Linked DNA regions of Homo sapiens: region 2 is linked to region 1. The links are contacts of gene promoters, found by promoter capture Hi-C in human tissues and cell types (Jung and others, 2019). All regions are on one chromosome and are shown on one strand. The core of a region is centred on a gene start or on the middle of the fragment in contact, and the rest is flanking DNA. Distances in the headings are between cores, read along the strand shown.

Region 1 (6,638 bases), core at 1-2,500:
CTCTTCCGCAGCCGTGACCCCTCTCCTATCCAGCAGCCTCCCAGCAGCTCCGCTCCACCCCGCCTGCCAGCAACAGGAAGCCCTGGTGAGACCAAAGGCTCAGCGGTGCCACCAGCTCATCCGGAGATTATTCTGCCTTGGTCTGGGCTGTAGCGACGCTGGCAACCTGCCGGGAAGTGGCCATGGCCTCGGGCAACAGCGAAGTTTAGCCCAACTCCCTTCCCAGCCTCCACCCACACAAGCCTGAGAGACAGGCCAGGGTGTGGCCCCATGTCCTCCCCCTCTGGAGGGTGAAAAACAAAACTCCCCAGGCCAGAGGAAGCCAGGGAGTGGAGGGATGGGGTGAGCGCCAAACACAGACCTAGCCCTGTTCCCTTCCATGCTTCATGGAGGGATCACCCCTTCTAGATCACCCCTTCTGTCCCTGCCAAGGAAGGCTGCCAGATGGGCTCAGGCAGAGCCATGTGGCCATGCAGACTCCAAGAAAAGGAGAAGCTGGAGGAGGAGGACCAGGAGGAACAACAGGAGGAGGAGGAGGAGGAGGAGGAGGAGGAGGAGTCTGATTCTTCCCCCACTTCACAGCCTGGAGCTTCCAGCCTAACTTCCTGGGAAAGGCAGTTTGCATCACTGCTGGGGAAGAATGGGTTAAAGTCAGCCCCCTTTGCCCCATCCTTTTCCCTTCTTGGCTTCTAGGCTCCTAATTAGCTCCCTGTGGAGGCCCTGGGTTCATAAACTGGCTCAAAGTGGGGTACAAGATACCTGCACAGGGTGGGTGGTGAGCAGAGGATGGGCCAGGCCATCTTCTGAGACCACTGCCCCCAGGCCAAGGATGGGTCACATCCAGACCCCCAGTGGGACCTCCTCCAACATCAGTGACGACAGGAGACTGGCGGCTCGGGGAGGGGCAGGACTGCTCCCTGTTCAACCGGGTGGAGGGAACCTCAGCTAGGGGCCTCTCTCCCTCTGGGCAGCGTGGGACAGGCCCCACCATGCTCCGCTGACACCTGGCACACCCCAGGGAGGGCCCCTTCCTTACCTGGGGCCAGCTGTGGGCACTTGTGGCCATGGCCTCCTCGGGGCCGGACTCTCCAAGTGGCCTCCAGGAGGGCGGTGCAGGGCAGCGGCGGCCTCCGCCGTTCCCTCCCGCTTTTCTTCTGCACGGGGGCCTGGGGCTGGTGGCGGCTTCAGACTAATCTAACTCCAGAAAAGAGAGAAGAAAACAGTGGGATGGAGTCTGCGCGCCAGTGAGTGGAAAAACAGCCTCCCGGCGCCACCAGGCAGAGGAGGGCGGGCCCCGAGGGCGGCGCGAGAGGAGAGGAGCCGAGAGGAAGTTGAGATGCCTGTTCTGCAGCTGCTGCGCGTCCCACCGACCCGCTGCTCGCCGTCCCTGGGCCGTGCTGGCCCTCCGCCCTCGGCCCAGACCCGGACCGGGCCATGCTCCACACCAATGGGACCAGTCGGGAGGGCCACGTGGGGATGTGGAGGCATTGGGGAGATCTGACCCAGACCTGCCCCCCATGACAGTTTCAAGAGCACCCCACGTACTTGACCCCCGCTGGGCAGAAGCTACCAAAGGAGACCCCGCGAGGGTCAAGGGAGGGTGTCGTCAGGCCCGCGCTGAGCCCTGCAGGATGCTCAGGGCCAGGGCCCCACCCTCTACTGGCCCTTCTCCCTCAGAGTTGTCCATTGACTGGACAAACCATCCCCAATGCTGACTCTTTGACCTATAGTCAGCTAACTCCCCGGGACCTGCTTCGGATCCCTGGAGGGCTGAGGATTGAATTCAGGAGCCTAGGGATTCTCCGGGTCCTGCAGGCAGAGCTCCAACTGGTGGGTGAAAGTTACAAGGAGGCAGGTTTCTGAAGGAAGCCCTGTGTAATAATCAGAGCTGCCCAGCCTGTATCTAAAAGTGGTCAAGATGCGGGCTGAAGCGTCACGGGTCAGGAATGCTGCACAGGAGAGTCTACGGACAGGCTAGATGACCCTTAGCATGGAGGGAGAGGACCCCCGACATCTGTCAGCTCTGCAGTGCTCGTGGTTCCGTCATGGTGGAGCTGCCGAGTGACCCGCTGGCCTCCCTGAGCTGGGCTTGACCATATGTACGAAGGAAAGAAAAGGTACCAAGTTCTGCTTGTTTATTTGTTTGTTTCAGATCCCAGCATGTGCTAAACACAGTCCCAGATCCTTCCCTAAAAGTTATCTTCCTCTATCCTTACCACAATCCTGAAAATCAGGTCTTTTTTAAAAAATAATTTTTTCATTTTAAAAAAATTATAAATCTTCTCTTTATTCTTCTTCTTCTTCTTATTATTATTATTACTTTACAGAGACAGAGTCTTGCTATGTTGCCCAGGCTGGTCTCCAACTCCCAGGCTCAAGTGATCCTCCCTCCTTGGCCTCCCAAGTGCTGGGATTACAGGCATGAGCCACTCCGCCTGGCCAAGCAGGTCTTCTAATATCCATTTTATAGACAGACACACTGAGGCTTAGAGTGGCTGGGTGACTGGCCACAAGTCCTGCAGTGCTGGTATTTGAACTCAGGTGTGCCTGACCCAAAGCTTTGCTCTTCATCACATTTGTACCTCCTGATACCTCCGGGCCTTCTCTTCCCACTGGAAGTGCTGCCACCCACCAACATACACCTTGTTTTTTGCTCATCCTAATCCTCCCTGACTTCAGGGCCCATACCAACTCCTACCTCCTGGAAGAGCCCTCCCAGCCCACCTTGGCCCACAAAGATCTGAGCAACTCCTCCCAAATAATTAAGAGGAGGGAAACTGGACCCCAGAAGTGGGAATAGAGGGAAGGATGGATAAAAAAGGATGGAATCATGCCAAGATCAAAATGAATCCTTAGATGCTTGGGACTTATGTCTCAGAGCTGAGGGCGGTGCTGAGAAACCTATCTGTACCTCTGTTTCCTCCTCAACAAGATGGAAGCTCGAGTGTTTGTGTTGCTGTCTCATCCCTGCCCAGGGGAGGAGGAAGGAAGTCCTTAGGTTCAGAAATCAACAAATACATTAGCCACCCTGTGCTGGGTGCCTACTATGTGCCATGTGCTTTTACACACAGCAACCCCATGATGGCGGGCCGGGGGGGCCTCATCCTCATTGTATAGATGAAGAAACGAAGGCACAGGCAGTGATGCAGCTGGCCCAGGGACAGGGTTTGTGAGTGGTAGAGACACCATTTGACCCAGTTCTGTCTCACTCTGGAATCTGAGCTGCTTTCTCTTTACACTGCTCTCCTCCACCCTCATCCCACCTGGGCTAGAGCCTTGGAGCTCCTCTTAGCCTCTTAGAACTCCATCCCCAAGAGGTGGGGTCTTTGAGAAAAATGGAGAGACTTCAGCTTCTGTGTCTAACTTCTCAAGCCTTGGGGATGGTCTGATTTCCCCTGGAGACCTGGATGTGACGGGGGTATTAAGGTGGTTTTTCAAAGACCCCTCTACAGGAGGACTTTTGTGCTTGGTTTGTGCTAAATAAACATGCAGTCCACCTGGACAATTGTCACATGACCCCCATGGTGACCACACACTCTGACCTCTTCCATGTGAACCTAGCTTCTGACATCTTGTCTCATCGCCTGTCACCCCAGGTGTGTCACACCAGGTAGGCTGTGTGTCATGTCCTTATGGACCTGCCCCGGCACACCCAGTCTCACCTACGACACGCTTGCCCAAATCAGAGGGCTCCCACTTCATGAGACGCCTGATGATTCCCACTCCCCGAGCCCGGAGCATAAAGGAAGAGAGGTACTGAACAGCCACAGACGAGGGTGGACCCTGGGGCAGGGATGTCTGTTGAACCTGGGAGGAGACAGTGAACATCAGCCTGGGAAGGGCTGGGCAGAGGGGAGCCATTGGTCCCTGTACCTGCCATGACAGTTCCGACCCCTTTAGACTAATACTGCTCATGGGCCCACTGCCCTAGGGCCATCCAGGGCAGTGTCACACCTGAAGGCATCAGATCCCCTTCCAGCTCCAAATTTCCTGCCTCCAATGGGCAGGCGAGTGCTAGGGAGTGTGGATCTGCCTAGGGGAGTACTGCCCAGCACTGAAACCCTTCCTTTTTCCACCTGGTTTGGGGGTTGGAGGGGCTGTGGGCTCAGATCCCCGTTCCTGCCTCTTCAGCTGGCCACACCTCACACTTTGCTGAAGTAGGTGGCCACCTCCTTACGCGGAGGCCGGGGCCCACCCCCAGCCCAGCCGTTGCCCATCAGCGGTGGCTCCTCCTGGCCCAGCCGCAGAGGCGGTTTGCATTTGTGCCAGCTCGTGAGCAGCCTGTTCATGGTGCCTTGATCCGTGATGCCACGCAGCTTCTCCCTTTCCTCCTCCGCACCATCGGGGGTCGTGGGGGCAGCTGCGGAAGCAGGGGCCGTGGCCAGTGTCCCGTGGGTGTGACCCAGCTCCAGGTCATGGTTCATGGCCTCGAAGAACTGCTGGATGCAGACCTTGGCAAAGGCTTTGGCGTGCTCCGTGCACGTCTCGTCGAAGAGCTTGCGCTCGATGTCGATATAGTGGGACCAGTACTTGCTCTTGAGGAAGGCGGCCTGCGTGAAGCAGGGCCGCACAGAGCGCACCACGAATGCCAGCAGAGTGGTCAGCAGCACGAAGGACCAGCCCAGCGCCTGTGGGAAGATGAGAGAGAGTCACGGGGCACTGTCCTTGGGCCTCCGAGCCTGTTCAGACTCCCAAAGCACTCTCTATGCCAGTGCCTCTAGGGCAAAGAGCACAAATTGGGCAAGTGAGCTTGCCTCTTGGCCTCCATTTCCTCATCTGTAAAATGGGCATAGAAATTGAAATAATGGAGATAGGTGCACCTCATGGAAAGAAGATCACGTGGGTAAAGCACCCACCGTGCTGGCGGGGCACCCAGGGCCCAGGAGTTAAGTGGGCAGACCCTGGAGTTAGGCTGCTTGGGTTTGAATGCTGTCTCCACTATTTACTAGTTGACCAGGAGCAAAGCACTCAACTTCTCTGTGCCTCAGTTTCCACACCTATAAAGCAGCTGGTGGTAGCACCTATCTCAGAGTGTTGTTGTGAGGACTGAATGTGATAAGCTTAGTGCAGTGCCTGGTACCCAGTGCTCAGTGACTATTAACCATTACTGTTGTGCCAATAGGCCCTCACTTACTTACTGTGCCTCTTCTTTCAGGAAGCCTTCCTTGATCTCCCCAGGCCATAGTGGCCCATTTTCCTCTGAGTCCTGAACCTCTCCTTTGGCTCCTAGTATTGTCACCAGTGCCAAATGAGCACCTCCTCTGTGTCGGTTCTGAGCTGGGCCTTCAGGGGTCATAGAGGCGAATCAGGCAAGAAATCAAACTCTGCGCTGAAGAGCACCCTGCGCTTGGTTCCAGCTCTGCTCTGTCACCTCACTGCAGGGCACGGGGCAGGATGCTCCCCTGGCCCACGCTTCAGGGTTAGGCCCCAGCCGCACAGAGAAGCACTTGGGCAGATCAGGACTGGGGCTGAGGGCAAGCCCAGATGCCTATGGGGCCAGGCAGGTCGTGACAGAGCACACGGGGTGGGGAGCCACTGAGCATGTGCATAGGCTGGGGGCACCCCAGCCTGTTCCAGGAGTACACGCGGGCCTGGTGGGGCTGGATTTTCTGGATTTCCAACTTGAAAATCTGATTTTTATGTGAAAAATTCCGATTTTTATTTTAATCTTATTTACTTTTTTGTTTTGAGACAGGTCTTACTCCGTTACCCAAGCCAGAGTGCAGTGGCACAATTACATTTCACTGCAGCCTTGACCTCCCAGGCTCAAGCAATCCTCTCACTTCAGCTTCCTGTGTAGCTGGGACTACAGGCATGTGCCACCAAGCCTGGCTAATTTTTTTCTTTTCTTTTCTTTTTTGGAGACAGGGTCTCACTATATTCCCTAGGCTGGTCTTGAACTCCTGGGCTCTAGCAATCTTCTTGCCTTGGCCTCCCAAAGTGCTGGGATTACAGACATGAGGCACATCGTACCCGGCCCATTCTGGTTTTTAGAAGATGCCAACAAATTCTAAAGTTGAATCTAGAATTCAGTCTCTGAAGGCCAAATGAAACATGTATAGGCCAGGCAGCCTGTGGCCTCTGGGGCCCTCTCAGCTTATGATGTGGTGGCTTAAAGGTCAGGTGGAATGACAGCTGCCAAGGCCCTGAGGCCGGGGACGATGGGATGAGTGCCCACAGGAGAGGAGGCACAGGTTAGGGAGGAGAGGGAAGTAGAGTTCAGTCGGGATGCTTAGAGCATGACATTCACCAAGGTCATCTGGGTGGTGACAGAGGCCTCCCAGGAGAGAGGCCCCTGCTAGAGTGGGAAGCCAGGGGTGTCTGGACTTGCCAGGGCAGAGTGTGCACGTTTCTCCAGTCCTTGCAGAGCAGGCTGGCCCCAGCCCCTCGCCCTGACAGCACCTGGTCTGCCAGCTGTGAGGGCAGGCTGCCTGGGTGGTCCTCCCCACACGGCACTGACTGGGTTGGAGAAGGCCCGAGAGGCTTGGATGGGTGAGCATGGAGGGGCAGAGGATGTGGGAGTAGGGCTGGGGAGGACCCTCACTCTGGCTGACCCGTCAGTGGTCTCTCCAAACTGCCTTTCCATCACATCCCAACAGGGCCTCCTCTCTCTCACCCATGCACCCCCTTCCAGGACA
Region 2 (6,638 bases), core at 2,931-5,430, 130 kb after region 1:
GGTGCTGGGAGGGGTGGAGAACCCCCTTGCCTGTCTAAGCCAGGCACCCGCACTTCCCGGCTCCCTCCCATGCCCCGTGCCAGATGCGGACCAGCAGGAGGATGTTTGTGGAGACAGTAAAGGGCTGGCAGCGCCTCCCAAACAGGGGCCAGCAGATACCTGCTAGCAAGCCAGGCGGCTGCAGGCTGACCTGTGGTTACAGATTAGCCAGTGCTCCGGATGTGAGAACGTCAACAAATGGGACTCTCAGGCTGACGGCAAGCTCTGCCTCAAAGGAGGCCCCGGCCTGCCCTGAGGTCCCCCACGCCCAGGTCCTGCCTTGGTTACCCTGCACTGCTGGCAGCGTATGGCAGGGCCGGGTGGCTTTCTGGGCAACAGCAAGCCCTGGGGCCCTCCTCAGTCTGTCTCCTCCCGCTCCCACTCCTGCTCTTCACCAGGTGTTTGCTAACAGTTTTCTCACCTGTCAACCCAAACCCTCCTGTGTTTCAGCTCAGGTCAACTCCTGTGTCGTCCAGAATACCTTCCCTAGCCCACTCTGAAACAGGAAGGGGACTTCAGCCTTAGTTGGGGATCTTGATCCTAAAGGGGTTATTTACTGTAAAGGAGAGAAGACTCAGAGGGAGCCCCAAGGAGGGTATCTGGGATACATATGGATTCCCACCAGGAGAGTTTTTCTAAGTCATGGTTATTCCAAGGTGGGGAATAGGTAGCCTTGGGAGATGGTAAACTTCCTGACCCTAGGGCCATTCTAGCCTCTAGCTGAGAGATTGGCAGGGATAAATGGATTTCCTAGTACCTTAGTTCCTCGAAAGTCCTGTCTAATCCTAGATACTAAGACTCTGGTAACTGAATTGTATTCAAATATTTTCCTGACTTCGGGGCAGGCATGGTGGCTCACACCTGTAATCTCAGCACTTTGGGAGGCTGAGGCCAGCAGATCACTTGAGCTGAGGAGTTCGAAACCAGCCTGGGAAACCTAGTGAAACCCTGTCTCTACAAAAAATACAAAAATTAGCCAGGCGTGGTGGTGTGCACCTGTAGTCCCAGCCACTTTGGAGGCTGAGGCACAAGAATCGCTTGAACCTGGGAGGCAGAGGATGCAGTGAGTGAGCCTAGATCGTGCCACTGCACTCCAGCCTGGGGAACAGAGCGAGACCCCGTATCAAAAAATAATAATAATAAAAAAAACATGTCCTGCCTTTAAGCCTTGCCCCTTCCACTGACTCTTGGCTCCCAGGGCCCAGTTCCTGGCTCCTCCCTCTCCCAGACTCCCTGCCCAGGGCTGGGCACACAGTAGGTCAGTGAGTAGGGCCCCCAGCACCACCTAGAGGAGGGGAAACACATGGCCGGGACCTCCCTGCCCTGGCAGGGTCTGCTTATTTTTGCTCTGGCCCAGGGTGTTGGTAGAGCCACTGCCGGGCACCAGAACAGGCAAGAGCTGAAGACTGACAGGTTCTTTCCTGAATGATGGGACATGCAAGGGTAGTCAGCTTAGCGGCTTCTCCTCATGGCCTTGTGCCATCTCTGTTCCCATCATAAACACCTCCAAAGCAGGTGGGCACGTGTCCCGGCACCGATTATGTAACTTGTTGCTTCCGAATGTGGGGCCACCCCACTGCTTGGGGTGAGAGGTTGCCCATCTGGTTTTTCTAAGCCTTACCCATCAAGTGGTGCAGTCTTGGGCCGAGGTTGGTCCCATGGTGTTCTCCCATGGCTTGGGGCCCCAAACACTGCCCTGACCTCTAACTTGGTATCAGCTCACTCAACTGTGACCTTTGCCGTCCCTTCTGCGGAGGGTGTTCTAACCAGCTCCTGTGTCTCGAGTTTCATCTATTTCAGGGCTTCGACACAGCTGGGCTCACTGATGGGATGGTTATTTTGGAGCTGCTGGCTGCCTGCAGCTGCTCCTGACCCTGAGGGGTGGAGAGGGAGAGAAGACAGACTTGGGCTGGGCACTGGCCCTAGGGATTCGTTCCGTTTTTAGCTGTTTCCCAGCAGCTTTTGTCCCTCCCCTCCCAACTCTAGCAAGATTTCAAGCAAGGCTAAAGGGATCCTCTTCCTACCCCCTTCTCTTTGTACATCCTCCACTGTTTCTCCTTTCTTTCTTCTTTATCCTCTCACCTCTACATTTTAGCTGCTGCTTCTTGGTCTTTGGTGATTTCATTCAATGAGTATTTCCTGGGTACCCATCATGACTGATGTGAAATCCTGCATTAAGGTTCAAAAAGCCCATGGTCTGAGGACAGGTGTACCTGACTTTTAGTTGAGACTGTGCTCAAGCCAAGCAAATACTAATATCTGAAGTTATCGGGTAGCTTCTGGGTGCTGGGGGTGGTCCCACTTTACCTCGGATCTTTCCAACAACAACTCAGGGCAGGTATTATTACCCCTATTCTCTAGGTGAGAAATTTGAGGCTGGGAGGAAGGTTGCTTACCCAAAAGCCACCAGCCAAGTGCTGGATCAGACATTTAAACCTAGGCCTGATCCAGACCTGGATCACCCCAAAGCCCATGCACTTTCTTCTGAATCATGTGGCATTTCACATGCCAATAACAACGGCTTATATTAACCTAATGACTGTGCCAGGTCTCCTATTAGGTGCCCTGTGTACCTTACTCCTTTTCATCCTCACAGCGTCTCTTCTAAGGGGAGTATTAGATACAGATTTTATGTAAATCAGTAGATGCTGATTTCACTGCTGAAGAGGCCCCAAGAAGTTCAGCTATTTGTCCAGTCATATAGCCCTGTCATACAGGAAATGGCAGGGCCAGGATTTGAACCTAGACTGATGACTTCAAATTCATTGCACTTAACTGTGCTCCTGTCCTGCCTACTAGTATATGAATGTTGGTTACTGAAAAAAACCTAATGTACTTTTAGGTTGCATTATTAGAAGTATAGCATATATACCAAGGGAGGTGATGGCCACACTATGCCTTGAGCTGGTTGGTGCACATCTAGAGTACTGAGTCTGGTTTTGTTCATTATCTAAGAGGTGGGAAGGTGTGTGGGGACTCTGAGTATTCCCTGAGAATTGTCTTCAGTACTGGGCTGATAGGCAGCTCAGGAGGTAGTGGGTTAAATACAGGGAGGTAGATTTTGGTTTAAAAGAAGGAAATACTCTTTAAAGACAGATTAACTCCACAATGGAACAGGTTGCCTGGAAGTTAGTGAGCACCTGGTAGTGTGCATGTTTAAGTAGAAGGGGACTCCTGAAGGGGCAGAGAGACCAGGATAGCTTGCATCCAGCCCCATTAAGAGCTCTGTTCTGAGGGTCTGCCCAGCCCCAGGAGCTCTGGACTGATTGTCCTGAGGGGGTGGTGTGGGCCCTGTGACAGCTGTGTTCCTGGAGGCTCTGGCTGGACATCTCTGAGCGACCTGATTCCTCTTCTCCCTGCTGTTACTGCCCCTTCCCCTCTCTGTCTCCCACCCTCTGAAGTTCCCAAGGGTCAGTGCCTGGAATCCCAGAGGGGTGAGGGAGCAGGGACTGTTCCCCAGGGTCCAGGTCAGCCCACTGGCTTTCCCCCACTCTGCACCATTTGTCTCTCCTACCTCCCCCCTGCACAGGCCCTCCTGGCCTCTGCCTCTGCCTCTCTGCAGCCCCCCAGCCTCTATGCACCATCACTGTCACAGAGTCAATTCCCTGGAATAATCACATTTTCTGGCCGGCTCCCTCCTCCTCGCCAACACGATTCCAGGAAACCCCAATCAGCCAGGCCCCAGGAGGCTTCTCCAGAGCTTCAGGAGGCTTGGGGGGAAGGGCCCACACCCAGAGCTTTCTGGGGGCCAGACAACACAGTTCCTGGAAGGGGCAGTGAAAGGGTGAAAGAAAAGAGGGAGGTTTAGTGACCATGTCTACATTCAGTTGGAACTGAATTTTGGCCTCTGCTGTCCCTACCAGACCAATCCCCCAAGCTTTGCTGTCATACCTGAGAACCCCAGCCATCCTTAACCCAGTTCCTGAAGAGACAGCACAGATTCTCCCTTGGAGAGGTTCAGGGAGAAGGCCCAAAGGAAGGGATCGGTCCATGGTGCGGCTTACAGTGGCACCAGGCATATTTGGAGAGATTGACTCACGCAGAAAGGCTTCAATAAACAAGGAGAGTCTGGAAGTGAAGAATGCGGCATTAGGAGTTGGACAGACCTTTTTTTCAATCCTGGATCTGCCACATGGCGGCTGTCATAACGCCGCTGAGCTTTATCTGTAAAACGGGAACACTTCCACGGGCTGCCGTAAGGATGAATTGCAGGGGTAATTCATGGAACATGGTGATCACTTTTATTGAAAGTTATAGGACTCCATAAAGCAGAACATAACACAGCCATTAGAAGAATATGGTGTTGGAAACAGTTATTGGCACGGAGAGGTGTTCAGATGCTGGGGATAAGATGGAAGGAGCCCAGGAGTTAAATTTTTGAAAATTTTGAAAAAAGCTACCAGGGTTCTTAGCCTGGAGTCCTTGCCCATGAATGGCTTCATGTAGTTCATGAATGCCGAGAAATTATCTACAGAATTTAGTGAGAATGTTCATTTTTCTGGGGAAAAGGGTCAATGTCATCACATTTTCAAAGTGATGTAGTACATATAAAAGGTAAAAAACAAGTGATGTTTATATAGCATGACTCAATTTTTGCACTAAAAAAAGTAACCAGCTGGGTGTGGTGGCTCACACTTCTAATCGTAGCACTTTGGGAGACTGAGGCAGGAGGATCGCTTGAGCCTAGGAGTTGGAGACCAGATGGGCAACATGGCGAAATACCGTCTCTACCCCAAAAATACAAAAATTAGCTGGGCGCGGTGGTGCATCCCAGCTACTTGGGAGGCTGAGGTGAGGATGGCTTGAGCCTGGGAGGCGGAGGTTGCTGTAAGCTGAGATATCTCCACTGCACTCCAGCCTGGGCCACAGAGCAAGATCCTGTCTCAAAAAAAAAAAAAAAAAAAAAAAAAAAGCCAAACAAACAAAAAACCCAAAAATACAGCCTTTAAAAAGGCCAAAAGATCATACATCCAAATATTAAAAATGCTTTTCTCTGGGTGGTGGGCTTATAGGCGATTGTTTTTTCTTTTTGCTGAACTGAATTTTCTACAAAATACCGTTTTATATTTTGTATAACTTGTATGATTTAAAAAAGAACGATGAGTTTGATTCCCTGTTAAGCCACTTTCAAAAGGGTATCTTGGATAGATCTACTTCTCAGCCTGTGTCCTGACATGGCAATGGTAGCCTCAAAAGGTGATTGTTAAGGTTAGATGAGACAATGTACGCAAAGAGGGTGTCTGTGTGTTTGCTGGGGGGTGGTTGCTCCCTGGCTTTCCAGGATGTTAGGCCTTCGTCAGTGCACTCGACAGACGGTTACTGTTTGTCAACAGAATGCTTGGCGCTGTTCTAGCTGCTAGGGATAAGACGGAAGGAGCCCAGGAGTTAAATTTTTGAAAATTTTAAATTATGAGGAATACAAGTTTACTGTAGAAAATGAGGAAGTACACATATGCATATAGCAAGCACCTGTGAGCATTTGGAAGCATCCACATGGTTTCAGTTTCGGTGCTTCCCCCCACCTATTCCTCTGCTTAAACAGATGTCCTGCAAGAGTCGTTTCTTGACTGTGTTCGCTAATTTATGTCACAAGCATCGTGTGCGCCATTAGCCATCCGGGATTGTAACGGTGCGCGCGTAGGGACCGGACAGCGGGGCGCGCCGGGGCCGCCTCCCGAGAGCCCTGCGTGACACTGCCCCGTGTCTCCCGCGCAGATAGCGAGCTGGTGCTCCCGGACTGTCTGCGGCCGCGCTCCTTCACCGCCCTGCGGCGGCCGTCGCTGCGGCGCGAGGCGGACGACGCGCGCCTCTCGGTGAGCCTATGCGACCTCAACGTGCCGGGCGCGGACGGCGACGAGGCCGCGCCGGCCGCCGGCTGCCCCATCCCGCAGAACTCACTCAACTCGCAGCACAGCCGCGCGCTGCCGGCGCAGCTCGACGGCGACCTGCGTTTCCACGCCCTGCGCGCCGGCGCGCACGTCCGCATCCTCGACGAGCAGACGGTGGCGCGCGTGGAGCACGGGCGCGACGAGCGCGCGCTCGTCTTCACCAGCCGGCCCGTGCGCGTGGCCGAGACCATCTTCGTCAAGGTCACGCGCTCGGGTGGCGCGCGGCCCGGCGCGCTGTCGTTCGGCGTCACCACGTGCGACCCCGGCACGCTGCGGCCGGCCGACCTGCCTTTCAGCCCTGAGGCCCTGGTGGACCGCAAGGAATTCTGGGCCGTGTGCCGCGTGCCCGGGCCCCTGCACAGCGGCGACATCCTGGGCCTGGTGGTCAACGCCGACGGCGAGCTGCACCTCAGCCACAATGGCGCGGCCGCCGGCATGCAGCTGTGCGTGGACGCCTCGCAGCCGCTTTGGATGCTCTTCGGCCTGCACGGGACCATCACGCAGATCCGCATCCTCGGTGAGTGCCCGCAGCTGCGCCTGGGCGTATGCCTTTCCTGGAGGCGGGGACGATCCGGGTAGGAGACAAAGGGCGAGCTCCCCTTCCTCCAGGCTCATGATGGTGTTGCTAAGGAATCACAGACACCTAAGGTGAGTTCTGGGCGGGACTTGGTCATCTTGTCAGTGGCCCTTATATGTCACCTGGGAGACTCA

What was found. The method cuts DNA at HindIII sites, captures the fragments that hold promoters and counts their contacts. A contact is called where the count stands out against the background at its distance.
Region 2: a fragment that was not itself captured here is called in contact with the fragment with the promoter of CALHM2 in region 1 in 2 of the 25 tissues and cell types used here (aorta and liver).

The regions. Positions count from the first base shown.
Region 1 is chr10:103,451,120-103,457,757 of GRCh38, forward strand. CALHM2 (calcium homeostasis modulator family member 2) reads right to left here and starts at 1,251. Exons shown (of 4, transcript NM_015916.5): 1 at 1,037-1,251; 2 at 1-166. CALHM1 (calcium homeostasis modulator 1) reads right to left here. Exons shown (of 2, transcript NM_001001412.4): 2 at 2,121-4,628. The coding sequence ends at 4,143. LOC124902494 (a long non-coding RNA gene) reads left to right here and starts at 1,324. Exons shown (of 2, transcript XR_007062275.1): 1 at 1,324-2,117. RefSeq lists enhancers at 1-293, 242-862, 863-1,484 and a silencer at 1,323-1,652. The HindIII fragment of the contact is 12,335 bases long and covers 1-3,809 here.
Region 2 is chr10:103,578,782-103,585,419 of GRCh38, forward strand. It overlaps NEURL1 (neuralized E3 ubiquitin protein ligase 1), which reads left to right. Exons shown (of 6, transcript NM_004210.5): 4 at 5,755-6,444. It overlaps LOC124902496 (a long non-coding RNA gene), which reads right to left and starts at 4,962. Exons shown (of 3, transcript XR_007062277.1): 1 at 3,931-4,962; 2 at 3,658-3,803; 3 at 1,190-2,208. RefSeq lists a silencer at 5,633-5,692. The HindIII fragment of the contact is 5,943 bases long and covers 1,210-6,638 here.